4 separate regions of the Homo sapiens genome follow, and all the other regions are linked to region 1. Evidence: promoter capture Hi-C in 16 types of primary human blood cells and fetal thymus (Javierre and others, 2016). All regions are on one chromosome and are shown on one strand. Each heading gives the region's core, a stretch centred on a gene start or on the middle of the fragment in contact. The rest is flanking DNA. Distances are from core to core; before and after follow the strand shown.

Evidence for each region. The method cuts DNA at HindIII sites, captures the fragments that hold promoters and counts their contacts. A CHiCAGO score of 5 or more calls a contact.
Region 2: a fragment that was not itself captured here is called in contact with the fragment with the promoter of CLCA1 in region 1 in 1 of 17 cell types (neutrophils); the score reaches 7.4 in neutrophils.
Region 3: a contact is called between a fragment that was not itself captured here and the fragment with the promoter of CLCA1 in region 1, in 1 of 17 cell types (neutrophils). The highest score is 5.1, in neutrophils.
Region 4: a fragment that was not itself captured here is called in contact with the fragment with the promoter of CLCA1 in region 1 in 1 of 17 cell types (neutrophils); the score reaches 5.9 in neutrophils.

Annotation. Positions count from the first base shown.
Region 1 is chr1:86,466,290-86,471,384 of GRCh38, forward strand. CLCA1 (chloride channel accessory 1) reads left to right here and starts at 2,638. Exons shown (of 14, transcript NM_001285.4): 1 at 2,638-2,844. The coding sequence starts at 2,683. The HindIII fragment of the contact is 8,280 bases long and covers 1-3,994 here.
Region 2 is chr1:87,034,113-87,039,632 of GRCh38, forward strand. The region is part of intron 1 of HS2ST1 (heparan sulfate 2-O-sulfotransferase 1); the gene reads left to right. Among named protein-coding and RNA genes, the nearest start is that of LINC01140, 93 kb to the right of the region's middle. The HindIII fragment of the contact is 4,220 bases long and covers 571-4,790 here.
Region 3 is chr1:87,135,491-87,140,603 of GRCh38, forward strand. All of the region lies in intron 2 of LINC01140 (long intergenic non-protein coding RNA 1140), which reads left to right. Among named protein-coding and RNA genes, the nearest start is that of LINC01140, 8.3 kb to the left of the region's middle. The HindIII fragment of the contact is 797 bases long and covers 1,877-2,673 here.
Region 4 is chr1:87,112,799-87,118,353 of GRCh38, forward strand. No RefSeq gene overlaps it. Among named protein-coding and RNA genes, the nearest start is that of LINC01140, 14 kb to the right of the region's middle. The HindIII fragment of the contact is 3,080 bases long and covers 115-3,194 here.

The DNA of each region.
Region 1 (5,095 bases), core at 1,388-3,887:
CCAAGACCCAGCTTGCAGGGAATGCCAAGCAAATTTGGAGAGCACTTAAACTGAGTCTGTCACACCAGATGACCTCTGTCATAGGGAAATGCAGCAGCTGCAGCCAACAAGGGCAGGACAACTAAAGACCCCACTCAGGGATGAAGGGTGGGATTACCCCAACAAGAGAACAAACAATACAGATCAACCAAAATGCTGAGTAAAAGTGAGGGAAATAGGTGATAAAGGAGGGAGATTATAAAAGCCTTGAGACCAGCTGTAACAGCAGGCATTGCAATTTATTTCAATAACCTTCTTGCCTTATGCACTTGAGCAGATTGCAATTGACCACCACTTTGAAGGAGATTCTGTAAATGATTAAACTTGTACCTTCTCTCAGGGGAAAAGTGAGACAGCTAGTGCTCACACACACAGAAACACAAATCCTACATTATAATATTGGAGCTTGATATGATGAAAGTACTAGAGTGAATCTGAGCAGCTCAGAGTGAACTGTATCAGACTCTTCTTATTGAACCTCCTCAGATTTGCTTGGTTCCATCTGTCTACCGGGCACTCAGTCATTTGCTCCACCTCAGTCACTATCCACTCCTTGCAGGTCCAAGCAGTTCCACTGCCTGAGGTCAAGCTGCCACCTCTTGTAACCCCTGGCTCCTCACATACCACAAGGCATGGGGGTCTCTCTTTCTAAGCGACTGCCGAAAGGGCTGGATGACACAGCCAGGAAGTCTGGGGGGAGATGATCACCTGTAGAAGATGAGAAGGAGCCAAACGCTTTTCCTTCCTCTCTCCAAAGGGCTGCTCCAAGGCGTGGTTTCTTTGCACAGCCCCTTAGGAGACAACCCACACAGGAAGGCAAGGGCGCCTGTGGGCTGGCCTGCTGGGTGTCTCCATTGCAGGGCTTAGTAATGCTCCTCCTTTAGTTGCTTCCCAGCCTTCCCTGACTCATTTCCCCATTCCCTCATTCTCACTGCTCTGGGATTAAACTCTCAAACTCTTAGCACATATGCCTGCCTTAGGCTCTGTTTTTTAGGGAACCCAGGCAAAGACACATACATTTGGGGTCTGAGATATCTTGGAATCTACATTTTTAAATTTTGTATGAATAATAAATGTATATGTATTTTGATATAAAAGCATATTTTGGATCATCTGGACAACCACATTATAATTGAGCATTTCCACTCTATTTCAGTGTTTCCCTTTTAACTGCTTAAGATTATGCTAGATATAAAGGGTATTCAATTAGGAAAAGAGGAAGTCAAATTGTCCCTGTTTGCAGATGACATGATTGTATATCTAGAAAACCCCATTGTCTCAGCCCAAAATCTCCTTAAGCTGATAAGCAACTTCAGCAAAGTCTCAGGATACAAAATCAATGTACAAAAATCACAAGCATTCTTATACACCAACAACAGACAAACAGAGAGCCAAATCATGAGTGAACTCCCATTCACAATTGCTTCAAAGAGAATAAAATACCTAGGAATCCAACTTACAAGGGACGTGAAGGACCTCTTCAAGGAGAACTACAAACCACTGCTCAAGGAAATAAAAGAGGATACAAACAAATGGAAGAACATTTCATGCTCATGGATAGGAAGAATCAATATCGTGAAAATGGCCATACTGCCCAAGGTAATTTACAGATTCAATGCCATCTCCATCAAGCTACCAATGCCTTTCTTCACAGAATTGGAAAAAACTACTTTAAAGTTCATATGGACAAGATGAAATTAATGCTTATCACCATCTGAAGACCAAATGAATTTATGAACGAAGAGATATTTCAAGTATTTCAATACAAGAAAATGGGGGGCCAATTTGAGGTTCCACCTGAGGTTTGGCAAATTGAAAGAATATACACAGCCACTGACAGCCCATAATTCATGTTCCTAGGGACATTTAGTTTCAGCAAAATAATTTAATGATGTTAATTGGAATTTTATTGACTGGTAGGAGCTATGCAATAGAGAAAGCAGAAATCTGATGAGGAACTTGGAGTATGCTTTGCAAAGTAAGATATACATTTTATCTTTACTCTCCATTATAAAATAGTCAATAATATCTACATCACTTGCTAATGCTTTTGGTACAAATGGATGTGGAATATAATTGAATATTTTCTTGTTTAAGGGGAGCATGAAGAGGTGTTGAGGTTATGTCAAGGTAAACAAAACCACCATTGTGGTAAAGACCACCATGAGGGATAACTGAATATATGGCTTACAAAATGTTTACTGAATAAGCAGAACAGTCTGGATTTTCCTGGGCAGGAGGGGGTTGGGGGCTTTGGGTGGGTTGGTGTCCATGGCTTGGTAAACATTTCCAAGAAGTAAACAAACCTATCAGCGGCCAAGCTGCTTGTCACCTGTGAGTGCTTCCAAGGAACCGGATGTGGGCTCCCCCACCCTTACCCCAGCATCTGGCACAGCTGAAGGCAGATGGAAATATTTACAAGTACGCAATTTGAGACTAAGATATTGTTATCATTCTCCTATTGAAGACAAGAGCAATAGTAAAACACATCAGGTCAGGGGGTTAAAGACCTGTGATAAACCACTTCCGATAAGTTGGAAACGTGTGTCTATATTTTCATATCTGTATATATATAATGGTAAAGAAAGACACCTTCGTAACCCGCATTTTCCAAAGAGAGAAATCACAGGGAGATGTACAGCAATGGGGCCATTTAAGAGTTCTGTGTTCATCTTGATTCTTCACCTTCTAGAAGGGGCCCTGAGTAATTCACTCATTCAGCTGAACAACAATGGCTATGAAGGCATTGTCGTTGCAATCGACCCCAATGTGCCAGAAGATGAAACACTCATTCAACAAATAAAGGTAAGTTCATAGTAATTATCCATACTTTTTTAAAAATAGCATAATGTTGTGATAGAGAGAACATGAGTGCCCTATTCCAGCTGCACGACACTGGCATGTATTTTTATGTCTAAGTCTCAGTTTCTTCATCTGTAAAATGGAAATAATAACAAGTTAACCATTAGGATTCTTGTGTCAGATAAGATAATGAATGCAATGCACATAACTCAGAGTGATATACTGTTGGCAACTGATAAATGATAAATTGATATGTACTGCTGTGGATTATGTCACTGAAAATTATTTAGTTCTATAGTAAGGCAGAGTCAGCTACATTTGACAGATATTGTGAGATGCACAGATCCTTTGCCTGATTTTACCCTTGGCACGAGTCAGACTCTCCTTTTATTCTCCTAATAGGAACCCCCTTCCCTGTGATCCTAAAAGGAGCCCCAGATGCAAATCTCTGATATAAGAACAACCCTGACCTTCTGATGGGAGAAAACCTTGCATTTTATCAGTCCCAATTCAAGGGATCCTTTCAGAGATTTCTTGCTACCTCTTATGTAGCAGAAGGGAAAGGAAGAAGACTTCCTGTCCTGGCAGGGGTATCTATACCATTGAAGAAGGTCTTGTACAACAACAAACAGCTAAAACTAAGAGGGAAATGCTTTATAAAAGACCGCCCTGGAATCTGGCTGTAACACATCCAGAGGCAGTGCTGTACTAGTAACAGTATTAGTCTGTAAAATGGGAATAATAATAATAAATATCTCCCTTATCAGATTTTGTGAGGATCAAAGTTTAAAATGCATGCATATAAAGGGAAGCTGGGTGGAGTATGTAAGAATACGGTGCAATACTTTGCATGTCTTCTGTTCATCTAAATTTATCTCAGAACTTTAAAAAATAACTTTAAAAATGCATGCATAGTGCCTGGTACATAGTAAGAGCTCAATAAATGGTGGATATAGTCATTGGCTCTCTCTAGATGGAAAATTAATAGAACAAGGGCCCAGAGGGATTTCCCCAGAGATCCACTGCTCTAAGCAGAGGCAAATATAGAAAGATAATGTTTGGAAAGAAAACCATCTCTACAGTGTGTGGTTAGAGAATTGCAGCAGTAGGGGATAGGGATAGGGAACAGAGTGGAGGGTGTCACTCACCATAAAGCTTACCTACTTAACCCAAAGAGGATCAGGCTGTCTGTGGTAAAAGGGAGATTCAGACCTCTTGAATCTCTCAATCATCTAAAATGTTGAGTGAGTTTTTGATTGTTTCTAAATTTGGAAGTGGCATCAGCAAACATGTGACCAGTGTGTTTCAGTCTCTGGCTAGACAGTGGGGTTCAGCAATATGCCAGAAGGAGAATGTAGATGCCGTATTCATCTTCAGTGACCGTGGTAATTTGTATCTACAGTATATAGTGACTAGAGCTTTCAAAGTGCTTCTACTTCATTGTCCTTGGAGGTTTTCCTCCCGAGATACGTACTTCTCGCTACAATTATTAAATTGTCTTTCCAGTATGGATCCTAAAGTTGGGGGTGAGATAAGTTGGCTTCCATCATTTCCTTCTCTGTAACAAGAACACTTTAGTGAATAGAATGCTCAAAGTCCCTAACTCCTTCCTATTTGATGTTCCAGATCTGCAGAGTTGAGGGACCTCGTTGAGGGCTTGGCCACCTTTCCCAACCATTCCTCCCTCTACTCCAACAACCTTCTTGCTGATGAGAGACTCTCCCCTGGTGCCCCTGTGGGGACAGAAGCCCCTAACTCAGCTTTTAAAATATTTGCTTCAGCAGGACAGTCCCCAGATTTCCCCACCTACAAGAGCAGTTAATCGCTCTGCACCACTTCCATCCACTGCATTCTTGCTAATATTAGCAGGGGGAGTACACGTCACAAGATGAGGAAGGGAGAGTCAGAGAGAAACTCTCTCTTCCCCCGTCAAATATACATACACACACACCACACGCACAAGCTCGTGTGCACACACACACGCCCATGCACACACGCAGACATACACGCACACACGCACGTCAGAAGGTACACAGTAGGGTTATTTTGGAGTCTCTGCAATGCTCAGCACCCCAGGCACTGTGCCTGTCTTGGCAGTTCTATACCACTTTGCCATTTACTAAACCCACTTTATTTATCCATTTGTTTGTTTATTCATTCAACAAATATTTACAGAGCATCTAAATTATGTCAGGTACTAGAAGTCCAGTGGTCAATATACTGTCCCTGTCCTGAAGGAATTTCTAGCCCATTC
Region 2 (5,520 bases), core at 1,431-3,930, 570 kb after region 1:
GACCATCTACCCTTTTATTTGTTTCAAAGTGTCAAAACAAAAATAGAATCAATGGTGAGAATGGCTTTGATGAAATACCAGTGAGGAAGGTCACAGTAAATTATTATTTCATGACAAACAAAAATGTAAATTCTTTTACATTGCAAATATAATATTACAAGAGAATAGCAAATTTACAGTATACACTTGGAGAATCATTCTAAAGCAGTTGAAGTCTCCCCAACACCACACTTCAATTTTTTGTGATCTGTGGTCTCCAGAGTAACTATTATAAGTGGTTTTCCCAGATTCTGGAGGGGAGAAAATAAATTAACAATGGATTGATAACTTTATTGTTCAAGCTATAGTAATTCTTTTCACTGTGAGATTTTACATAATTCACTAAAATTACCCTTGTTTTGTAAATATGGAACCATTCAACGAACTACTTTTGAAAATGCAAATATTGTACTCTAGCTAGTACAATGAGCTCTAGGAAATCAGAATCACATTTTGAAAGAATCTTGAGGTTTCAAAGCCTTTCAAATTCTCTCAGTTGAGAAACTGTTACAGTGTAAAGTATATGTACGAAGCTTTCCCTTTTAAAAGACAATAAAAAATAGTTTTGAATTGAAGAGTAATAGGATTAGTAATCTTTATAAAATTAAAGAGCCAGATATGCCCATTGTTTTCAGCTAAATAATGGTTCCTTAAATATGTCCATATCTTAATCCCCAGAACCTGTGATTATGTCACTTTATATGGCAAAAAGGACTTTGTAGGTGTGATTAAATTAAGGATCTTGAGATGGGGCGATTATCCTGGATTATGTAGGTAGTCTCAATGTAATTTCAAGTATCCTTATAAGAGGGAGGCAAGAGAATCAGAGTCCTAAAGAAATGTAATGACAGAAGCAGGAGTCTTAGTCAGTGAGAGAGAGATTTTAAGATGCTGTGCAGCTGGAGGATGGAGGCTCAGTCCATGAGCCAAGGAATGAATGCAGGTGGCTCCCAGGAGCTAGAAAAGGATTTTAGGGAATGTATTTTCTTCTAGATCCTCCAGAAGGAACATAACCTAGCTGACACCTTGATTTTAGGACTTCTGACCTTTAGAACTCTTAAGATAATAAATTTGTTTTCCTATCAGCTAGTCATTTTGTCGTCATTTGTTACAGCAGCAGTAGGAACTAATTAACCTATGAACAATTTTTAACCTATCGGTATTGTAAGTAGTACTTCTAATTATTCTTTTAAATATATCTTTCTTTGAAAAACTTATTCTTCTTTAGGATTCAGACTTTTCATGTACTCAGGGAGAATAAATGAGTCCTGTTCTAAGTTACTTTTTTCTCTTGGAGATATCACATAGTTGAGTTCATGGCCTAGAAGATTTTCTGATGTTTGTACATGCCCATGGGAGAATGTGTTATCATAATAATTTTTAGTATGCAGCCTCTTGACTTGATTTTTCACTTATAGTGTAGACCATAATATTTGTCAATTTCTTATGCATCTACTGTGTATCCAGCATTGATATAGACATCTTCTGTACATAATACATTCCACAATAACCTTGCAAGTTTGGTATTATTTTTATTTTATAAGAAAGTATCCTAAGTATGACCCATTAGTTTGAAATAAATTAGTATTTGTTGTGTAAATCTTTACCTCCCAGTATTGTTGTTTAAGAATTAAAACAGGTTGTTCAGAGAAGACGAAAGACTTTTTTTTTTTTTTAATTATTACTATACTCTAAGTTCTGGGATACATGTGCAAAACCTGCAGGTTTGTTACGTTAAGTATACACGTGCCATGGTGGTTTGCTGCATCCATCAACCCATCATCTACAATAGGTATTTCTCCTAATGCTATCCCTTTTCTAGTCTTCCACCCCCTGACAGGCCCCGATGTGTGATGTTCCCCTCCCTGTGTCCATGTGTTCTCATTGTTCAACTCCCACTTATGAGTGAAAACATTGGTTTTCTGTTCTTGTTAGTTTGCTGAGAATGGTTTCCAGCTTCATCCATGTCCCTGCAAAAGACATGAATTCATCCTGTTTTATGGCCACATCATGGTGTATATGTGCCACAGTTTCTTTATCCAGTCTATCATTGATGGGCATTTGGGTTGGTTCCAAGTCTTTGCTATTGTGAGCAGTGCTGCAGTAAACATACATGTGCATGTGTCTTTATAGCACATGATTTATAATCCGTTGGGTATATACCCAGTAATGGGATTGCTGGGTCAAATGGTATTTCTGGGTCTAGATCCTTGAGGAATTGCCACACTGGGAGACCAAAAGACTTTAAAGCACTGTTAATTTAATTGGGAAGATAAGAAATACTATTCATATTATAGTTGAGATTTGAGATGGGCTTTGAAGGATGAATAGGTTTTTTGACAGCAATTGGAGGGAGGATATTCCAAGTGAAATGAATACTGAGCAAAGACTCAAAGATGAGAAAACATGGACTAGGTTATAGGAATGTAACAGTTTGGCTAGTATATTTGTGTAGGGAAAAAATAAAAGATATGCTGGAATGAAGTGAAAAGGTGTTTAGATATTTCCAATTTTGTAGAATTTTATTTTTAATTCAGTTGGTGTACTAATTGTAAAATTACCTTGACCAAACTGATATCAGGATGACAATGTCAACATTGCACACTCTTTGAAGACAGTTCTCATTTGCTGAATGAATGAATGAATGCTGACCCACACATTTTCAAGGAAAACCTTGGTTATGTTCAATACATGTATTTTAAAACTGAGGGAAGTATGTCCTTTCTGAGAGATTGTCATCAACATGGATAACTGAAAGGTTTTGATGCTTAAAAGGATAAGCTCCAAATATCTGGAACATTCACTTGCATATATCACTACATTTCCCAATAGTATTTGTTAAATTAAACCTTAGGTAATAAAGTGCTAGGGTTCTTTTTCCTGTTCTAACGAAGTGAATATCATAAATCAATTCATTTGTTTTGCTGATTTATCACATTCATGGGTGCTGACTTTTTTTTTTAATCTGCTCCCAACTTTTGCTTTATCGTCATTGAAATATGCTTTTCTTCTGGTGGTGAAAGTAGTATGTGAATGTTTAATATGTAATTCTATAATACTGTGAATTCTGCATATCTTGTTCTGTTTTGCTAAAAAAGTGAAAAAATATTTCCCTGTGATGTGAAACAGCCATTGAAGTTTGGTGAGTTTATGAGTTGGATAACTATTATAATTACTCAGTGTATCTTGCTGTTGAAAAGCATAAGTTAAAATGTTTTCATTTATTCTACTTGGTTGTAGTTATAAAATTATATGGCCCAATAAATCTGTACAATAAATGGCCTTTTAATATATATATTTTAATTTTTAGAAATTAAAAGATTACAGAAAAGTCCAAAGGTTATGTCAGAATTATCAAACATTAATATTTTTGCATATTTAGCTATCCTTCTAAAATTACATCAATAATATGTCTTTAAAAATAGAATATTTCAAATAAAGTTGAATTTTTTTTTTTTTTACCACCATCTCCAATTCTGATCCTCTGTCTTGTATAAAGTAACCTATTATAAATTGGGTATGTATGTTCCTAGTACTTTTTTGGTATTTTTACTCATTTGTGTAACCATACATTTTTAAATTTTTTATTTGAAGAGATGGTTATCATAGTGAATGTATTCTACAACTTGCATTTTTTCACTCAATAATTCTGATATCTAGCCATCTTGATACTTCCAGACGTAGTTCATTCTTTTAACTGCTATGTAGCATATATCTATAATATATCTCTAACAGATTTTAGATTGTCTGCAGTTATGAGCAGTTCATCTGTGAACATTTTTCTTCATATTTTCTTATACATTCAAGCAAATGTTTTTCTAGTAGGTGCCTAGAAATAAAATTGCATGGCATATGACAGTGAAAATCTTTATATTGTTAATGATTAATGTACTTTAACCAATAGTTTTTTAGTCATAAATGACTGTAGACTCTTACTTAATATTATAGTTTTTAAAACTTGTCAAATTTTATTTAGTTAGGTCACAACCATCTGTTTTATCAAGGTGGATTTGGTCTGTTCTATGACAATATGCTGTGTTCTTAACAATCAGCAGTTATCTCATAATCTTATAACTACTGAGGAAAGCAGTGAAATAAATGGATGGATGCACAGATGGGCAAAGTCTATCACTACCACTGAAATAATTATTTTAAGTACATGCCATATTTAACTGTGTCAATACATTTTATTTTGAGTTTGGGGATGCCATCCTAGAAACTGAATATACATGTAAATAATTAAACTGTTGTATATTATTCCAACAAGTACATTTAGGGTACTGTTGTAAAACATTTTCAAAATTAAATGTCAAATGGAAATTCAAATTCAATAAAATTAAGGATTATAAAACTAAAGCTAAGCATGTTGTATGTAACAGAAGTTATTCTGGAAAGTCCTGCAAAAATTAGAATTTGCATTCATATTGTGAATTACTGTACTGCTTTAAAAAGGAACAAGGAAGGTATTTATGTTTTGATGTAGAAAGATCTTGAAGATCTATTTAAGTTACATAAAGGCAAGACAAAGCAAAGTACATATTGTCCTAATATTTGTGTAAAAATGAAGTATTTGTTTTAACTTACATATACGTGAAGTGATCTCTGAACCAAAAACTAATAATAGTGATTATGTGTTGTGAAGGTTGGGAATTGGGCAGATAGATACAGAACAAGAGAGAAACTAAAAAAAAAATGGATTCTGACAGAGAAACTTTTTACATACCTTTTTAAAAATACCTTTTCACATTTGAAGCTTTGAGTATATTGCCGTTTTTTTAAAAAAGTAATCTATAATTTTAATATTTCTATTGTATACAATTGAAAAGTATTTTTAAATTTCCCATGTATATGGAAAAAATAAATTAGTAAAAACAATCATGAGCCAAATGACAACTTTGGCTGAACCCTGTACTGATATGGAAGGTAATAATGATACGTGGGTTAGTAATAAAGCACCTCTCCTTTGGTAATTGTAAGGGTTCTAGTTTTCAAAATGGCAGTTCATGACTTTCCACAGCCTCTTCCTGTGGTGAATTTCTGGCCAGTTGGATGACAGAAATACAGGGCTTGCTAAAAGTTAAAGTATCTTGGCAGTTCTGGAAAGAGACCATCTAAACCACCAGCCAATGCTACCTCAGCAATATTACCAATAACCAGTTGTTCACTAAGAACCGGTCAGGGCGCGGTGTGGACCATAGGTATCTTTGCTATTCTGGACTGTTAGTTTGCTTCCTGATGTGCCTCTGCTTATCTTTTCTTCCTCTCAGTTTCATTGGGATCCTCAGCTATTGAGTTCTGTCCTGGTGCATTCCAGCCCCACTGCAAAAGAATAGGAATGAGCATCTAACACATCCATCTCTGAATGCAGAAGAGGTTGAAGTATAACAACCTTATTCATTATTATTACTTGCTTAATGAATTTCTGGATTTTTATTATCTGTCATTAAATATCCAGGACAGGTGTCATCCATTTATCCTTAT
Region 3 (5,113 bases), core at 1,025-3,524, 670 kb after region 1:
AGCGCAGTGGCAGCAGCGGCAAGTGCCTCCGCATGTGCCGGGCTGTCCGGGTATGCTGGCAGCCGCTTTGCACTGAGATGTGAGCAGTTGGTTAGGCTTCCTCTCTTTCTTTCTCACAGATACTGACTTCTTTGTCTCTTTTCTGGGTTGCAGAGGGATGGGTATTTTCCATTGATTATTACTTTAGCATTTGACCCTCCAGTGGAGTCACCCTGTTTTTTTTTTAGAAAACTGAGACTCTCACTTTGTGAATTCACTGTGCTCTCTGGGATTTCAGTGCTGTAGTTCAACCACCAATCCCCCTGTCCTGAACTCCAGTACTTCTGATGCTATTAATTGGTTCCTCAACAATTGTGGCCTTTTCCATCATTGCCCACCATAGTATATACTTTTTCTTTCTCTCTCTTTTTTCTAATTTCCTTGTCTTCTTCACTCTCCATGGAGCCAGAGGTAGTATGAAGAGTTAAAAATAGGAATATAAAGAAAGCCAGAGGGACAGAGGGAGTGAGAAAGAAAAATTTTAAAAAGGGAGGAAATGAATTATTGGATTAAAAATAAACTTTTACTTTTTTGCAGAAAAATTATTTTTGCTCTCTGGGAAAATAACATGGGCCAGGCATAAAAAGCATGTCAGCTGGCTAAAAGATTGCAAAATCCAGAAGATGATCTCGATGTGTCTGTTCAATTTAGCAAGGGTATCTACTAGGGGATCCTCTTTTAAATATGGAGGCCCAAATCAGAAGCTTGTAGAGGGGAGCTATTCTTCCAAGATTCCAGATGTGTCTGTGAGACAACACGTTATGGGGCAAATTGATTTCACCCTTGGGAAACCAGGGAGATTTTCAAAGTTATGTCTGCAAAGCCAGCTAATGCAATTCCCCATTAGTGCATTAAAGTGCGCCCTTATTAATTCAAACATAAAGGCAACAAAATAAGCTTTTAAATTTAAAATATAATACATATATAATGAGCATGTGTGAAAGCCTTATTCAAATGAAAATACAGGAGTGTTTGAACTACTGAGGTATCTTTTGTATTGAATTATGAGCATATGTAATAGATTTAATTATTAATTTCCCCATTGTTCTATGCACACAGACAGGGTTCAAGGCACAGTCATTCTCTGGCTTTCATAGATCTAATTTGTATAATTATTGCCTGAATAAAAAATTGCTCCAATTCCTAGCTCTCTTTCTTTCTTTCCCCCTTCTAAATACTATTTCAATGCTGCATTCCAAAAGGGGAACACCTGCCACTTCTTCAAAGTCAGCTGATCATTTGGAATGATGGACGGCGCTGCTGCCGATGACGTCCCCTTTCAAGTCTCTTTGTCTAAGTGAATTATCGTGCATCCTTTTAATTTTATTGAACAAATTACATTTGTCAAGGTCTATCTTTGTAAATAAATGATAACTAGAGACACATGGATGCGTATTTCTGCTGTTCAAGGGCTCTTGTTCCATTTCTGGAAGCCAGATGAACATGGAACAAAGGAGAAACTTTCCTCTAAAAGCAATTATCTTTCTGCATTCCCATCAGTATAATTATATTGCAGGGAATTTTAAGAAGCTGTAGAAGTAGAATTGAATGCTTAAAACTGTGTTTGCTGAATTGCTATGCAAAAGTTGAACAGGCTGTATTGCATCACACAAAATAGTCTAACTCTCTCCTGGCCACATTTCTGTAAGTTTAGAATGTGCCTGAAGGGTGGAGATGGTGTGGGGGAGGCGGTGGGGATGGGGATGAGGTAGATCGCATTTAGGGTTTCCTGTGTTTCTTGAATGGAATATTTAATGACATTTCTGAAACCTGAGGGCTGTTAGCAAGGTGACTGGGAATGTGTCTAATAAAGCCACCCATTCCAGTCTAGTTGGAAAGCTTCTGATTTGCAGATTGCTCTCTGTCTGAAACAGTCCTGCTAGTTTACTAACTAATCCATGAATGGTGGTGGGATGAAGAGGGGACCGTTCATGAAATGATGGCAGCAGCAATTACACTGCTCCCAAAACAAGCCAGCAGCTGGCTTACAGAGATACTGAATGTGGTTTGTGTGGCTACTGTGTCAATACTGCGCATCAACCAGGATCATTCCTTTCTCATTGGCTCCCCCACAATTTAGTGAAGTAAACTGTTGCTGTGAGGTAAATTGTATTGTCTGATCACTGACAGCTCAATAACCTCATTCCTGCCCCTTCCCAATTTTTAACAAACTCCCTGATGAACATTCAGGAGGAAAATAAAGCACCAGTGAAAAGTGGCAACAGAGAATGCCATAATCATGGGTTAGTTTAGTATGGCTGGTAGGTTTTGAGTTACTGGACAATTGATGGGATAATATTATAGTCTAGAGATCTTGAAGAAAGGAAACCTACAAGAAGGATGACCTTGGATCCTCTCAGAGAAGTGAAGGGTGAATCAGGAGCCTGGCGATAACTCCCAGTTCACAGAGACTGCATGGAACAGCGGGATGAGCATGGGCTTGGGTTGGGATGGAGACAACCCCTGGCCCCTGCATTCAGTGTCTGCAGTGGTAAGATGAGGGATCTGGACCAGATGATTGAATAGCCTATCTTTAGATTCCGGGTCTAAGGTCATGAAACCCATTGTATGGGGCATTGATCACCATAGGAAAGTGGGGGAGGCAAGGTCCATGTACTAGGATTGCATTGTTAAAGCTTTATGAATGTGTTGAAGGGGAAAAATGATTTTTTCTCATAAGAAAAATGAGTCCAGTGCTTTTGATCTCTAATTTCTGTGGCTGAGGTTTGGTGATAAGCAAGAATGGAAACCCATGGGATCATTGCAGGTGACATGATCAGAAAGTGGTAGGCCCATAAAGTAGGTTTAAAATGGTGCCTTGGCCATCTTGGTGATTGAAAAGCCTCCTCTCTCAGGAGAAAGTGGCCAGTGGGACTGATTTGTTTGATTCAGATCATCTCACTAAGCAGGCAATGAAGGGAATTGCAGAGAACTAGCATGTCCAGCTTAGAGTTGAATTCAGTGCTCCCTGAAAGTGTCAGACCCTCTGCTGGAGCTAGGAATAGGTCATATGGTCCCTGTCATCAGGATCATGTTGCATACATATGACCGTGAAGCCAGGTAGGAACATCTGTGATTCTAGGACACAGTGATCGGGGCCATGACACAGTTCTCCTGGGAGGGAGCCTGGTGGGGGCTGAGGTAGTCAGGGAAGGCCATGGAAGGAAGTGAGGCTTGAGTAGACACAGTCAGATAAAGGTAGGGGTAGACAATGGTAACAGAGGGAAGAATACGTGACGAGCAGTGACGTAAAGCAGCAAGACATGTTCAAAAAGCTGCTAATGCTTCAAGATGGCCAAGGCGGAGGGTGAGTGTGGGTGAGCAGAAGGGGATGGGGCTGAGGAAATCAGCAAGTGCCAGACATGGGGGCCTAGCCAGGAGGCTCGAACTTTCTGCTCTGAGTTAGAGGAAAGGGGAAAGCACTGAAGGAGTGTCACAGGTAAGCAGTGTGTCAGGGTCAGAATTTAGAAGGGTCATGTTTACAGCTAGGACTGGATCCTGGGGTCCCTGTGCAAAATGAAAATGTGGGGCCATTTATTCAAAAACCAGGAAAAAAGGTGCTGTTAAAGGCATTAGAATACAGAGCGTTTCCCTTCATTCTGCAGCCTCTCAATCTGTCGTGGCATTTTTGTATCCTCTTTAATGTCACATCCCTCTGGTCCTCATGGCAGGACACTTGTGGGACAAGTACAGACTTTCACGGGAGCTGGAGCCCTCCCTAACACTTGGGACACATGTGGTCCACTGGCAGCTGGCTCCTCCTCTCCATAGCCATGGGACTGATGTGTCATGCTTCAGCTAGGGGTAGGAAGATGCAGCCAGGTGTCTCTCCTTCCCGGAGGCCTGGTGCTGTCACCCTTGGCAAGCAGGTAACCCTCAAGGGTATTGCAACTTCCCTGTCAAGATGTACTGGGCATCTTGGTTAAGGTTGAGCCTGAGGCTTCCTGTACCAAGTTGCCTGCTAAGTGCATGGTAGCGCTGACAGCCTGGGGTGAGGATGGCCACTGCCACACCCCTTGCAAGATACTGTGAAGCACGCTCACCAACCCTGCCCCTCTCCACCCTGCGCCCAACCCTCCACTGAAGTGGAGTGGACAGTGTCACTGGGACAGGTTGTGGGGGAGGTTGGGCAGGGCCCAAGGTGCCAGGGGCAGTGAAATGGGTAGCCGAGTACCTGTCCTGGGAGGCAGGGAGGTGGTAAGAGATGCTGCACATGAGAGCCAAGACCCTAAGCCCCCGGCCCATGTTCATGTGCCATGGACTTCACTTCCAAAATGGTAAATCATTAAGAATTTCAAGATGGCAACCAGAGAGCATGTGCCCTCAAGCATGGGCCCTTCTGAGCATGGATCCCTGTGCTTTGTGACTACAGGAATCACTCACCCTTCATGAAGCCCATTGGCAGCAAGGCAACTGTAGCAGAGCTAGGCTTAAGGCAGGGAACTCACCAGGAAGGGGCTGGAGCTATCTGGTAATGAGTGCTGAGAACCACAGTGAAGATACTGGTGGTGAGAATGGAGAGGAAGCAATGGAGGGAGATATTAGGAGGTAGAAGCTGTAGGATTAAGAGGCAAACAGGACGTAGCAGGGGTGAGTGAGGCCGTGGGATACAGGGTCACTTACAGGGTTCTCATATGGGTAACTGGTACTTTATGAAATACTTTTACATAATTTTATCACTTTTACATAAATTTTATCACTTAATCTGCAAAACATATTATTGTTACTTCCATCTTATTGGGGGGAAATAGCTGAAATAAGTGAGGTAATTCACTCAAACTCCTCTGGTCAGAAGACTTGGGATCAGCCCAAGGCATTTGATTTTGATGGCACATTCAATCTACCATGACTCCTCTGCTGCTCTGGATGAGTCTGCCTTGTTTGTTTGTTCATTCATTTATTTATTCATTGCTTCACTCAGCAAGTACTTATGAGGGGAGCACAAGGTGCTGGGCATTCGTCTAGGTGCTGAACAAGCCAGGCAAGCCTTCCGCTCTCATGGAGTGCACATTCTAGCAGGGCCCAGGTGCCAGATTTAATCAGAAGTTTCGCTCGGGCTTTAAGGGCCAGTGGA
Region 4 (5,555 bases), core at 405-2,904, 650 kb after region 1:
AGGCTATAATCCCATCTCTGGACCAATAGTGTCAGCATCCCCTAGGAACTTGTTGAAAGGCAGATTCTTAGGCCCTAGCCTTCTGAGTAGGACCTAGCACTATGTTTATTAATAAGCTTTCAGGTGGTTCTGACCAAGACTAAAGTTAAGAACCACTGGTCTAGAGCACCAGTTTACAGATGAGACGACTGAAGCTCTAGTTGAGCTTAACCTAGCTGGTTAAGTAACCTAAGGCTTCTCATAACAAAAGTTGTGAACTAGGATGTGAACCCAGGTCAGTCTGGCTCCAACACCATCTGTTTTCTACATTGGACTGCGTTATAAACTATAGTGTATCTTATATATTTCATTATTGGTAAATTCCTCTCTGAAATATCGTTTTGGGGGACCACAGAGCAGGTCAATAAGAAGAAAAAAGTCCCAATGTGCTCTTCTGGAGTAAGGCAAACAATGCCACCCCTTCTAATGAGTTTCTGTTTTCTGTGTGAGGTGAATGTGGGGGCTAAACCTCAGCGTGGCTACTAGTGTGCTCAGGAAATTCAGGGACAGAGCCGAGAATCCAAAATGGCTACCCAAACTAAGTGCATTTCATCTGGACTTTCTGGTCCCAGTGTTCTTTGGTCATACTTAATAGTTTACTGTGATGGATTTAATGGCAAGAGGGCTCCTTGCCCTGGCTTGGCAATATCTGTGGAGCCATGGGTTGACGTAGTGTGGGAATACTTGTGGCTACTTGGAAATCCCTGTTGCTGTCATCATTGGCAGTGCTTCCCAGCCGAGATTCTTAGTCTGTGGTCACGTGTGAACTCTTCCAGTCATGCAGCTTAAACAGAAGTGCCCACTTGTTTCTCACAAATTATATCTGCATTTTTTTTTCTCCTAGAAGCAAGAGCCCAGACCAAGGGTTAGTCGATAGCTCAAGGGACTTCCAGGGAAATCAGAACTGATCTTCGTGCATAGCAATGCTTATAGGCTTCCTTCCACACACACTGAGAGATCAGCAGGGCAGTGGACTGAGCCTTCGGGTGCAATGCATTTCCTCAACACATTCTTTTTGAAAGAGGAAGATTGTTGCCCATGTATAGTGTACTTCTTATGTGCCGGCACTGTACCAAGTGCTATGCATTTGTTAACACTCATTTCATCCCCCCTTTTTTTTTAAGAGAAAGAGGATCTCACTCTGTCACCCATGCTGGAGTGCAGTGGCACAACCATGGCTCACTGCAGCCTCGAACTCATGGGCTCAAGACTCAGCCTCCCAAAGTGCTAAGATTACACGCTTGAGCCCCCATGGCTGGCCTCATTTCATCCTCTTAATCCTCTGAGGAAGGTACTACTAGCAGCCCCATTTTACAGATGAGAATGAATTAGAAGTTCAGATGCTTTCTTACAGTCACACAGCTAGAAAGTGGTGGAGCAGGATTCAAATCCAAGTCTAGCTACAAATTTTCTGCTCTTAACCATCCTGTTGCATAGGCTCTGACAGCTGTGACAGGCAGTAGTGGGGGGTTGTTTTGAAAGTCTTGCCATAGGCTGGATGCAGTGGCTCACACCCGTAATCCCAGCACTTTGGGAGGCCCAGGTGGGGGGATCACCTGAGATCAGGAGTTCGAGACCAGTCTGGCCAACATGGTGAAACCTGAGGTCAGGAGTTCGAGACCAGCCTGGCCAACATGGTGAAACCCTGTCTCTACTAAAAATACAAAAATTAGCCAGGTGTGGTGGTGTGCGCCTGTAATCCCAGCTACTCAGGAGGCTGAGGCAGGATAATTGCTTGAACCCAGGAGATGGAGGCTGTTGTGAGCCGAGATCACGCCACTGCACTCCAACATGGGTGACAGAGTGAGACTCCGTCTAAAAAAAAAGTCTTGCCATGTCTTTTCTGCCTCTTTTACACAGCCCCACAGGGCTTGGCAACAGGAAAAGCATGACCTAGGGCTATGGCAGTCACCCATGTGGGCTATAGCTATGGCTGCAACTCAGTGCGGCCTCCAACGACGAGGACTGGGAGTTTGGAGGGGCAAATTTAGGCCATTTTGTTTTCTTGAAATGCTTCCTCCTAGTCCCTAAATTCAGTCCCAGGTCAATAAATGGCAGTTAGTTATTCTCGGTGGTCGTGGTGATGTCTAAAGACTGACAGGATTCCCAGATTCAATGTTGGGAAAATCACCTTGAGTCCACTTTTCAATGTGCTGGGGAGTGAGTACAGGCCAAGTTCAAGTCATCAGTTCCCAGCGGTTCAGCCAGCGTGTCTTGTGAATTCTCCCAGGGCTCTCTGGTTTTAGCAGGGTCTCCATGTGCAAACCTTGCCTTTGCACAAGAGCCACCATGGCAGGAGGTTGACCAAGCTGTTCTGGGGAGGTGAAAGGTGCTGAGAAGTTGATGCTTCCTCCTAAGTGCTGTATGGAGCAGGCTTGGCCCAGATCCAACATGGGCACCCAGCAAAGACTGGTTGTCTCCTGGTGTCCCTGCAGCCCTCCCAGCCATCCCCTCACTTCCCACTGTGGCATGCTGCTTACAGCTCTCTCCCTCCACATGCCTGAGGGCCTTTCTGCAAAGAGGGGTTCAGAGATATCCATGACCAGCCAGTCTAACCTTTTCAGGGTGGGAGGGCAGAGCAGAAGTTTTACAGTGGATACGAGGCCTGAAGCCAAAGGAGTAAAACCTCTGCCTCATGGGAGTCCAGGCATGCTTAGGCAGGAGGGGTGGCAGGTGGGTAGGACAGCCTCTTGACTCCAGAAATCTCACTTCATAAGTGGCACCTGCTCTGAGCTCTCCAGATATCCCTGAATTTGGTTTTACCCTCTGTTCTTGCCTCTTCCTGTCTCCCTCCTCCTGCTCAGTCCCTCACCACAACATTCCTTTTGTGTTTAGGGAGATTTCCTAGCACCTCCCTGGCTAACAGATCAGATCCATCTGAGTCACACTGAGCCTCCCATTTAGTAACTTAGGACTCTGGAGTCCGGGTGGCCTAGGCGTCATGCCAAACTCACTACTGCTAATAGTAATGCTATTATAATGGCTTTTATACTTAAATCTCCTTTCTTCCAGGAGCCCCAAGGTCTTTAACAAATGCAAGAATTACACTACTCTCCAAAAAATAGAAACTGAAGGAAAATACATTCCTTATTCCAAGTCTACTCCTTCATGGCCTTACATAGTTGCTTTGAAGGATGGATCTTTAAAGATTCATAAGCTTTGGTGGGTGAGTGGGGTGGACAAAGGAGATAGGCTTTCTTATTGCCTGAGGCCCCACCAGTTTCACCATCTTATCTTTCGTTGGTTTTGCAGCTCAAAGACCTTGAAACTACATCTGGATGAGTCTAATAAACTGGTATCTTAGAAGAAGAGATAAGGTTCAATACGAAGATGTTTGGCTCTCATACCCCCAGAGGTTATGGGCCCAACAGATGCTCACTGAGCTCAGCTTGTCATTGCGTGGTTTAGGACAGACAACAAGGAACCTTGAAGGATGGAGTCAGCTTAAAAGGCAAGCATTAGGTTTGGCTACACACCCCTATCCTTAGCACCTGTGAAGATCTCAGAGTGCAAAGAGAAATACAGATCATGGCCCACTCCTCTATGCCTGGCACTGCTGGGTGCAGAGGAAGGGAAGAAGCACCAGGGGTGGGCTTGGCCAGGACGTGCCCTCCTTTCAAGGGTCCAGCCACCTTGTTTAATGTAAGGGAAAGAGAATTCATCTTGATGCCAAGCAACATAGCTTCCCGTTCTGACTGCACCTTTTCTCACCTGGCATTCCCTCAATGTCCACCAGGTTGCTTTCTTTCTGTTGGAGGAGAAAATGCTATCTAACTTTAAGTATTAAGATCTGATCTCCTGATTCAAACTCATTCTTCACACTGATGCCAGAAAGAAAGTTTCTGTCTTCCAGAGAGAAAGTTCATGTTGCTTCTTCCCTCAGAAAGTCTCAGTGGCTTCCCACCCACTGTGGGAAGAGGTGCGGCTCCTTTAAGGTAGCATTCAAGACCTTCTATGCTAGGTCCCTAACTTCCCTTTCAGCCTTGTTTATCACCACAGCTCTCTGGTAGCCTGGACCAACCAGGTCACTTATGCCTGCTTTCATACCTTTCTCCCTGTTCTTCTCCCAGTTCTCTATGGAAATCTTTCTCACCGTTCAAGACCTAGCTCAAACAGCATCTCTCTGGGACAGTTTCTTTGATCCTGAAAGTCAGAATTTACTGTTTGTCACTACACTCACAAAGCCCATTGCTTGTTCCTATGTTCAATAATAGTGACATGGGAAGCACATGCTTTTTGAATAAGACAGACGTGAATTTAAGTCCTGGCTCGCTCACCTGTCATGTGCCTTTTGGAAAATCACTAATCTCTAAGTTTCCTTGTTCTACCAAAAGTAAAACCAAAGCCAACTTCACCTTATGTGTTGTAAGAATTGAATGAGGTCATAGCTCTAAAATCCTTGGGAGAAGAACATTGTGGGTGAGCTGAAGGCGTCAGCGTTCCCTAACATTTTGTTCTTGGTATTGTCCACCTGCACTTCTTCCCCTTAGGTGGCAAACTCCAGGTGAGGGCCTTTTCTGGCTCTTGATGTTGGCCCCATCCAACTCCAACACCATGTCTTGTATAGGGACACTCACTAAACATTTACAACATTGAAAGCACTTAATTTCTCAGTTCCTCAGTTTCTCTATCTGGACAGTAGTGAAAAAGAATAGCAAAAAAGAACATTTTGGGCTCTGAAGAAAAACTCCCCATATGCCCCTCCCAGGACGGAGCCTATTGTTAATTGGAAAATAAATAGTTCTCAGCTGAGCATGTCTTTGCCTTTCATGGGGCCCCCTGCGATGCTGTTTGGGAGACAGTTACAGCTACTTTGAGGATAATAATGACTGCCCCAAACTCCTGTGGAAGAATGTTGGGAAGATAAATGAGATAATCCACCTGACAGCTCTTTGAGCTCTTATGAAAAAGATACCCTTGAAATGTAGGATACAGGTGTGCCTTGCTTTGGTAGGTGAATTTTGGAGATTTTATAAAAATCTGAACCTACAAAACAGACAAATTAAGGGGTGAAAATTAGCATCGCAAACAGCCTCTTGGTTTGACAGAAAGATTCACAGCAGGGTCCCTTTAAATAGCCAGCTCCCCTGGTGCATCTAAAATATGACTCAATCTATAAAGAATTTGATTTACATATAACCAGTCAGGAACACTTCTACTACAGAGGAGGAAGCACATATGTTTTTTATAATAAAAATCGATAACTCTGGGGTTTTAAAAATATAAAATATTTCTTTCTTCTCATCATCTTTAATCCTGCAGTTAACACTTCCACTGCTAGGAAGTCGCCTAAAAAACAACTGCATGTTCTGCAGAGGCCGGGCCCTCACGAGCACAGCTCCAGGAGTGTGCAGGTAGAAAATGGCTGTTCAGCTGATGCCCATCACATCTAAATGCAACTTGCTGTTCCTAATTGGGCTAAAGCTTTTTTTTTTTTTTTGAGACAGAGTCATGCTCTGTCACCAGGCTGGAGTGCAGTGGAATGATCTCAGCTTACTGCAACTTCTGCCTCCCGG